Linked DNA regions of Homo sapiens: region 1 is linked to region 2. Evidence: promoter capture Hi-C in human tissues and cell types (Jung and others, 2019). All regions are on one chromosome and are shown on one strand. The core of a region is centred on a gene start or on the middle of the fragment in contact, and the rest is flanking DNA. Distances in the headings are between cores, read along the strand shown.

What was found. The method cuts DNA at HindIII sites, captures the fragments that hold promoters and counts their contacts. A contact is called where the count stands out against the background at its distance.
Region 1: a fragment that was not itself captured here is called in contact with the fragment with the promoter of USP18 in region 2 in 6 of the 25 tissues and cell types used here (dorsolateral prefrontal cortex, heart left ventricle, hippocampus and 3 more).

The regions. Positions count from the first base shown.
Region 1 is chr22:17,954,147-17,958,704 of GRCh38, forward strand. All of the region lies in intron 1 of MICAL3 (microtubule associated monooxygenase, calponin and LIM domain containing 3), which reads right to left. Among named protein-coding and RNA genes, the nearest start is that of MIR648, 25 kb to the right of the region's middle. RefSeq lists enhancers at 1,735-2,236, 2,237-2,736. The HindIII fragment of the contact is 9,939 bases long and covers 1-4,558 here.
Region 2 is chr22:18,148,686-18,152,970 of GRCh38, forward strand. It overlaps USP18 (ubiquitin specific peptidase 18), which reads left to right and starts at 1,485. Exons shown (of 11, transcript NM_017414.4): 1 at 1,485-1,537. It overlaps LOC124905076 (a long non-coding RNA gene), which reads right to left and starts at 529. Exons shown (of 2, transcript XR_007067999.1): 1 at 415-529. RefSeq lists enhancers at 1,226-1,545, 3,905-4,154. The HindIII fragment of the contact is 12,042 bases long and covers 1-2,758 here.

The DNA of each region.
Region 1 (4,558 bases), core at 2,051-4,550, 190 kb before region 2:
TATTGTCTGGCTTACTGTTATCATCCTTAGCGCCTAGAACCTGTTAAAGAAAAAATTATTTGGTGCTACTTACGAGAATACAGTAAGGAAGCACCACTATGATAGGTGCAGGGACCATCGCATTGGGGACCTGTAGTGGGGGACAGAGATCAGGTTCAACTCCTAACACTGCATGGACAAGTGGGAATTCAGAGCCAAGGAGCAGGTGGGGTCAGTGCATGAAAAATCACCAAGAGGAACATCAGGGGGAAGGAGATTCTGGCTCAGCCAACCTAACAGGATTCTTGCTGAAGACGGGCCAGGGTGATCAGACATCACCTGGGGCATGGGGAGGGTAGGGAATGGATCAGATATAGAAAATGAGGGTTTCTGGCTAAACCAACTCAGCAATGTTCTTTGCTAAAACTGGATTTTCCAAGGAAGTACATAGATGGGCCTAGCAAAAGATTCAAAAGGCTGGCTAATGTTTAGCCAGGCAAACGTTAAACCATGCCTGGAACACCATGGACACTCCAACACTTGATGAACAAACAGAGCAGCAGAATCTCAGTGTGGTTAAGGGCAGAGGCAAGTGAGTCAAACAAACTGGATTCAAGTCTTTTCCTTTTTTTTTTTTTTGAGACGGAATCTCGCTCTGTCGCCCAGGCTGGAGTGTAGTGGTGCGATCTCAGCTCACAGCAACCTCGCCCTCCCGGGTTCAAGCAATTTCTGGGATTACAGGCGGACACCACCACGCCCAGCTAATTTTTGTATTTTTAGTAGAGACGCTGTTTCACCATGTTGGCTAGGCTGGTCTCAAACTCCTGACCTCAAGTGATCCTCCCACCTCGGCCTCGCAAAATGCTGGGATTACAGGCGTGAGCCACTGCACCCAGCTTCAAGTCTTTTTTTAACTACTTACTAGCTGTGTGACTTTAATCAAGTTATTCAGCCTCTCTGATACTTAATACCCATATAGCAGGATTCTTGTTAAGGATTAAATGACAATGCATTTAGCCACTGAGAATGTCCAGCACACAGCAAGCTCTCAGTAAATGGTGGCTATTCACTGTGATCACCTCCTTTCTCCTGCTTCACTCCTTCAAAATCTCCCTGGTTTAGGGTAGAAGAGGAAAGCAGGCACCATAAAGAATGCAAGGATCTGTCCAGGAGAGACACTGCAGCCTGTTCCATCCTAACCCTCCACAACAGGTGTGTGTCTGCCCTGCCCCAACACCCGCTCTTACCCATCTGTTCCAGTAAAATCCATGCTCCTCCATCCCACTCTCCACAGGGAACCTTCCTCATGTCCTCCCCCTCAGGAGGGGATGTAGCTATCAGTAGGCTGAGGAATGGGCCGTACTTAGCCAAGGCCTTGGAGGAAGCTGTGTGTGGCAGGGGAAGCAGACTGCATCCAGAGAGAGCCCTGGCTGAGAACCACTGAAAAGCCAAGAGATGCCTACACTCACTCACACACTTATTCCCACCTTCCAACATCCCATAATATCCTCATTTAATTCTTACAAATTAACACTTTCTCAAGCCGATCCTTGGAGCAGCATTTTCTAAGATGAACCCCACATTTCTTCTACCAGCTGCATTTGCTATGCACCTCAATATGTCAGTGACAATTTCCTGGACAACTTCCAGCCTAGAGTGGGAGGTGGAAATAGATCTCATGCCTGAGAAGCCCCAGCCAGCATCACAGAACTGCTGAGGATTGGACCGGGAAAAGATCTGAGAGATCTCCGACTCCCCACTCAGCTGCATGTTTGCTCCAGCTTTCCTAAGGACTTGAATCCACAGAGATTTTAGGAATTTCAGATTTTTAGTCATAAACCAAAATCTTCGACCATTAAACGGTGTTTATGAATGTTTATGAGCACAAGGGAAGAAAATGTCCAGGAAGAGGGGCTCCTGAGAGAGTGTCCTCTGAAATTCCTGGTCTTATAGGAGAGGCAGCTGCAGAAGGGAGCTGCAGAGGGCACACACATGCCTGTGTCAGCGTCTCATGCCGACATCCACACTGGCTGAATCCAACATGTTCAAGGGTGCTGCATGCTCATCCAGAGCCCACTCCTCCGGGGCCCCACAGTGCTAAGCCATGGGGCTAGAAGGGCCACATGTCAAGATCACAACTTCCAAACAGACAGTTGCAGAAAGGGGATGGGGAGAAGAGCCCAGAAACACAGAGGCAGCAACCTCCCAGGTATGCCAAGCTTTGCACTGACACTGCTATGGTACCTACAGAAATCCATGCACTACCGGCCGGGCATGGTGGCTCACGGCTATAATCCCCGCACTTTGGGAGGCCGAGGCGGGCCTCCTGAGGTCAGGAGTTCGAGATCAGCCTGACAAACATGGAGAAACCCCGTCTCTACTAAAAATACAAAATTAGCCAGGTGTGGTGGTGCATGCCTGTAGTCCCAGCTACTTGGGAGGCTGAGGCAGGAGAATTGCTTGAACCTGGGAGGCAGAGGTTGCCGTGAGCCAAGATCACGCCATTGCACTCCAGCCTGGGCACAGCCGACTCCTGCACTGCGACTACGACTTAGCTCCGAGAAAAGAAGAGCAAAGGAGAGCTGCGAGGACAGCCAGCCTGTGTCTGGAGGGAGGACTGCTTACGTGCATACAGGGCAGGAAGAAGTGGACTCACATGAAGCAGAAGGTGCTCACGTGAGAGACACTACAGAGACGAAGTCAGACACCAACTGGAGAAAGATTTCCTTCTTAGTAACAGTACCCCAATCTTACTAGAGCCAGTGATGCACTCACTTACAAAACCGCATTTCTCAAACTTCCTTGAAGCTAGCTGTGACCATGTTTTCCAGGTTCTGGTTAATGAGATATAAGCAGAAGTGTGTGGGTCTTCCTGAAAGACTCCTTTAAAGGAGTCTCTCACATAGAAAAACATTTTGCCTTTCTTTACATTTCCTCCCTTTGGTGTTCTACCCAGAAAGAAAAGAAAGATGGCTGGAGCTCCGGCAGCCATGCTTTGTTATGAGGTAACCTTAAGGATGAGAAAGCTACGTGCCAGGGTAGTGGAGTTAGGTCAAATTGAACTCTCACCTGTCAATCCATAGAGTGGGCCACACAATCACCAGGCTTTAGCTGGCAAGTCCAGGTAGAAGGAACGAGACAAAATCCTGATGGCCATGCAGCTGGCTACACTGGCTCTGGGCTTCCCATCTCTAGGGTCCTTTTACATAAAAAGAAAATCTTCTTTCATGCTAAGCCACATTTTGCAATTTCCGACTGAAACTAATCTCATCTGATACAAAAATGTGAATAGAAAGCCTTCTTTACTGAGAGCCTGGGCTCGATGGCTCACGCCTATAATCCCAGCACTTTGGGAGGGAGGATCACTTGAGGCCAGGAATTCTAGACCAGTCTGGGCAACATGGCAAAATCCCATCTCTACTAAAAATACAAAACATTAGCTGGGCATGGTCGCGTGCGCCTGTAATCCCAGCTACTCAGGAGGCTGAGGCAGGAGAATCGCTTGAACCAGGAAGCAGAGGTTGCAGTGAGCTGAGATCAAGCCACTGCACTCCAACCTGGGCGACAAGAGTGAAACTATGTCAAAAAAAAAAAAAAAAAAAGAGAGAGAAAGAAAACGAGAGAGAGAGAGAGAGAGAATGAAAGAACGAAAGAAAGAAACTTTCTTTCTTTACTAAGAGAAGCTCTGAAGAAGATGAAATGGTACAGTCACAGGGAGCCTGGAGAGATCCCACCACGGCAGCCTGTCAAATGGTGCCTGCATATGGAAGACAGCTGTGGTGGCTGGAGTTTCTTAAGCGGCAAGCCCTGCTACTGAGAAAAGAGCAGAGCTTTCCTCGTGGAGTTAGACCAAGGAAGATTCATCCCAAAAAACCTAAAAATTCCACATTACCCATAACTGAAATCTTAGGAAAAACTGACCCAATGAGTTGGCATAACACGATCTCTTTAGTGGACCCCAGATGATATAAACCTGTAGATTTTTCTCAACAATTAAAATAACGTGGACCCCATTACAATTAACCTATGACACTTTTTGGATAGCTTATCTTCTACTACCTCCTGCAGAAAAATCCTCCCTATACAGAACTCAACAAATCTCCAATTCCTCTGTCCATTACCTCATTGGCCAATACTCACCCTTGCTAGGGCCACTTTGGGTCCTCAGGCCACGTTGTTATTTGTGTTCTGTTCCCTAAAAACCGTCAGAGAGACTGAGTTGAACGCACTCCACACACTGATGATGATGGCAGATGGCCAGAGGCAGTTACGGAAGAAAGAAAAGACAGTGGGGTCACAGCTCAGCTCTGCCTTCCTGCTAAGGTGTCTCCTGCATCGGCCTTGGGCCTCAGCTGCACCCCATCCTCACCCTCATCCCCCGTTAAAGCTAGAAAACTGGCTCCCCTACCCCAAAAACCAGAGGGAGCCCTCGACAGGGCAAGCTGAATCATCCGCCCATGGAGTGGACCATAGCACCAACACACAGTAGCCAGCAGGGCCAGAACTGACCACAAGAAGTGGGCTGAAGCAGGGCAGCCTGGTCTCAGGGCCTGTTGTTTTTGAGTTGTTGGGTTTTTTT
Region 2 (4,285 bases), core at 235-2,734:
CTGACGATGGACGTGTGGATAGCCTGTATGTGTATATCTGTGCTCATGCTTCTAACACACATCCACCCTATTATGGACACGTTTATACATCTTCATGCCATGGTATTTTGTACCTTACTGCAGACCCTACCAACGCTTCAGTGAGGTTCTGGCAGCTTTGGGTTTTTGGAGGCTATTTGTCTGTTGCTGCGGGGACGGCTTTCAGAAAGAATGATCGCTTTGGGGGAATTGTACCCTGCTTTCCTGCGCAAATTCCAGCGGCTGGAGTTTGAGGCCCCTAGCAGATAACCCTTCTGCCCCTACCCCCATGAGTCTACATACAAGAAATACATCTCTAAAGAGGTAATAAGCCTTTCCGGTGTGCATGTTACAGATCTCTTAACCTTATATATACACAGATGGTCCATCACTTACCGTGGTTTCACTTACGATGTTTCGACTTCATGATGGGTTCACTGGGACTTGACCCCATTTTTTTTTTTTTTTTTTAGACGGAGTCTTGCTCTTGTCGATCTCTGCTCACTGCAACCTCCGCTTCTTGGGTTCAAGTTATTCTCCTGCCTCAGCCTCTTAAGTAGCTGGGATTAAGCGCCACCACGCCGAGCTAATTTTTGTACTTTTAGTAGAGATGGGGTTTCACTATGTTGGTCAGGCTGGTCTCGAACTCCTGACCTCAGGTGATCCGCCTGCCTCAGCATCCCAAAGTGCTGGGATTACAGGTGTGAGCCACCGCGCCCCCTGACCCCTTCTTAAGTGGAGAAATATCTGTATCTGCATGCCCACAGGGGAGCTCCTAATTACACCATGTGCCGCATCCAAGCCACAGGCCGGTGATGTGAAGACACCCGATCCAAGAAATACAATAGCATTAAGAAAGAAAAAATGCTGCCATGGATACTACCAAACGCCAAATGACTCTAACACGTAGGCTAATTGCAAGGACCTTAAAATCGCAAATAAAAAGGCGCCTGTAGGTCGGGCGCGGTGGCCCACACCTGTAATCCCAGCACTTTAGGAGGCGGGCGGATCACCTGAGACCAGCCTGGCCAGCATGGCGGAACCCCATCGCTACTAAAATACAAAAATTAGCCAGGAGTGGTGGCGCATGCCTGTAATCCCAGCTACTCCGGAGCCTGAGGCAGGAGAATCGCTTGAACCCAGGAGGCGGAGTTTGCAGTGAACCGAGACAGCGCAACCGCACTCCAGCCTGGACGACAGAATGAGACTCCGTCTCAAAAAAAAAAAAAAAAAAAAAAAGCGAGGGCTGGAAGTCTGGAGCAGGTGCGCGGCTGCAACGGCAGCCGCGGGAAGCTCGGGCCGGCAGGGTTTCCCCGCACGCTGGCGCCCAGCTCCCGGCGCGGAGGCCGCTGTAAGTTTCGCTTTCCATTCAGTGGAAAACGAAAGCTGGGCGGGGTGCCACGAGCGCGGGGCCAGACCAAGGCGGGCCCGGAGCGGAACTTCGGTCCCAGCTCGGTCCCCGGCTCAGTCCCGACGTGGAACTCAGCAGCGGAGGCTGGACGCTTGCATGGCGCTTGAGGCAAGTTCGGGGCTCATTTTGGAAGTTTTCTTTCTAGCACAGACATCCAACTCTGCTCCTATGCCAGTCAGATAATTAAGGAATTAAGTAATAATTGTGCTCTGCAAATTATGATAGTGATCTGTATTTACTACGTGCATATATTTTGGGCCAGTGAATTTTTTTCTAAGCTAATATAGTTATTTGGACTTTTGACATGACTTTGTGTTTAATTAAAACAAAAAAAGAAATTGCAGAAGTGTTGTAAGCTTGTAAAAAAATTCAAACAATGCAGACAAATGTGTCTCGCAGTCTTCCACTCAGTATCATTTTTGTTTGTACCTTATCAGAAATGTTTCTATGTACAAGTCTTTAAAATCATTTCGAACTTGCTTTGTCCACTGAGTATATTATGGACATCTTTTCATGGCAGGACATATAGATGTGTTAATGGCATTAAAAATAAAACAAAAAACTGATTCGGCCGGGTACGGTGGCTCACGCCTGTAATCCCAGCACTTTGGGAGATCGAGGAGGGAGGATCACCTGAGGTCAGGAGTTACAGACATGGAGAAACCCCGTCTCTACTAAAAATACAAAATTAGCCTGGCGTGGTGGCGCATGCCTGTAATCCCAGCTACTCGGGAGGCTGAGGCAGGAGAATCGCTTGAACCCGGGAGCGGAGGTTGCGGTGAGCCGAGATCGCACCGTTGCACTCCAGCCTGGGCGACAGAGCGAAACTGTCTCAAACAAACAAACAAAAAAACCTGATACATGGTATGGGAAGTACATTGTTTAAACAATGCATGGAGATTTAGGTTGTTTCCAGTTTTTACTGGCACAGATACGGCAATGAATATAATTTTATGTATACATTCATACAAATATATCGGTGGAAAATTCCTAGAAGTGGAATGGCTGGGTCAGTGGGCATTCATATTGAGAAATTGGAAGGATGTTGTCAAACTCTGCAAATCAGAGTATTTTAGTCTTAACCTCTCTTCTTCACACCCTTTTCCTTGGAAGAAAGCTAAATTTAGACTTTTAAACACAAAACTCCATTTTGAGACCCCTGAAAATCTGGGTTCAAAGTGTTTGAAAATTAAAGCAGAGGCTTTAATTTGTACTTATTTAGGTATAATTTGTACTTTAAAGTTGTTCCAGAAAACAAGGCAAATACTGAAAAGCATTTCATCTGAAGTTTCTTTCTGGTATTGAACAGAGTTGGATGGAGAGTGAATGCAGGTTACCGATGTGTTCGCAGGAACAAAACGGGAGGGAGAGTAACACAGGTGCACGGCTTCATATTGATTTATCAAAGAACTTGCTTTTGGACTGTTAAAAAATGTGTTGCACAGTTCTGACACTTTTACACAATGATGAGCTTACAAAGGGGAAAATGCTTAACATAAACATAGTTTCAAAGAAGGTAAGTCCTAGTTTTTCCACGAGCTGTTTTTTTTTTTGAGAGAGAGTAGTCCCAAAATTTCCCTATTATGTGGTTTTTCATCCAAAGTGTTGTAATCCGTGTGTTCTAACCCGCATATTACGATTACTCAAGAAATGCAAAATAGGCCGGGCGCGGTGGCTCACGCCTGTAATCCCAGCAATTTGGGAGGCCGAGGCAGGTGGATCACGAGGTCAGGAGATCAAGACCATCCTAGCTAACACGGTGCAAACCCATCTACTAAAAATAAAAAATATTAGCTGGGCGTGGCGGCAGGCGCCTGTAGTCCCAACTACTCGGGAGGCTGAGGCAGGAGAATGGCGTGAACCTGGGAGGCGGAGCTTGCAGTGAGCCAAGATCCGGCCACTGCACTCCAGCCTGGGCGACAGAGGGAGACTCCGTCTCAAAAATAAAAATAAAAATAAAAAAAGAAAAAAGAAATGCAAAATAATGTGAACACGTCATCGAGACTGCGGTCTACAATTGTGGTTGCCATGATGGGGTGGGTCGGAAGACACCGAGGCTGCTTGAATCATGTTCCTGGCAGGTTAATTTTGTTCCTTTTAGGGCATCTAAATGTTGGAGTTGGCTTTCCTGGCAGAGAGTCCAGTTGTGAGTGGAGTATTGGGTGGAGGCCCCACCCTCCCCAGGTTTTCTGCAGCTTGTTCCTGGCTCTTCTGGGGCTTCTCTGAGGACCCCGATTGGTCCTGGGGCTTCTTTAGTGGTGGGCCTGGGCCAGTTCCTTCCGTTGCTCACCTCTCCCCGAAGCTTAAGGATAACATTTCGGGAAGATCATGAGAGAACGTGAACCAAAAAAAAAAAAAAAAATTCAGGTAGGGTGGGAGCTAAGTTAGTTTAGTATTTGGGATTTTTGTTTTGTTTTGTTTGAGACAGAGTCTCAAACAAAGACCCCGCGCCTGGCCTGGGGGTCTTTTTTTGAGTCAGCAGTTGAGTTTGAAAATCCCCTTCCTTGGAATCCGCCCAGGCTGTTTTCTCTGGTGGATGCTTATTGCCCCTGCTAACTTCAGCTGCGGTCTCTCTGCTCGCCTTGCCCTCCCCATCCTCCTTAGACCTTTTAAGCTTCACTTTCCTTTCCTTGCTGCCCCGCCTCCCTGTCTCCCCAGTGTGATCTACCCTGAAAGGCTGCTGTATTTTGTTTCCCTTTGGGACCGAGCCTGCTCAAATGATCTGCTCCATGAGGTTTTACTGCTATATCCTACTGAAGTATCTGGGAGGTCTTGGCGGAGAAGAGGACAACATCTTGGAAAATGCAGCCTGGAACCTCTCTGCTCTCTTTCATCAGCTTTCCCTCAATGATGAGC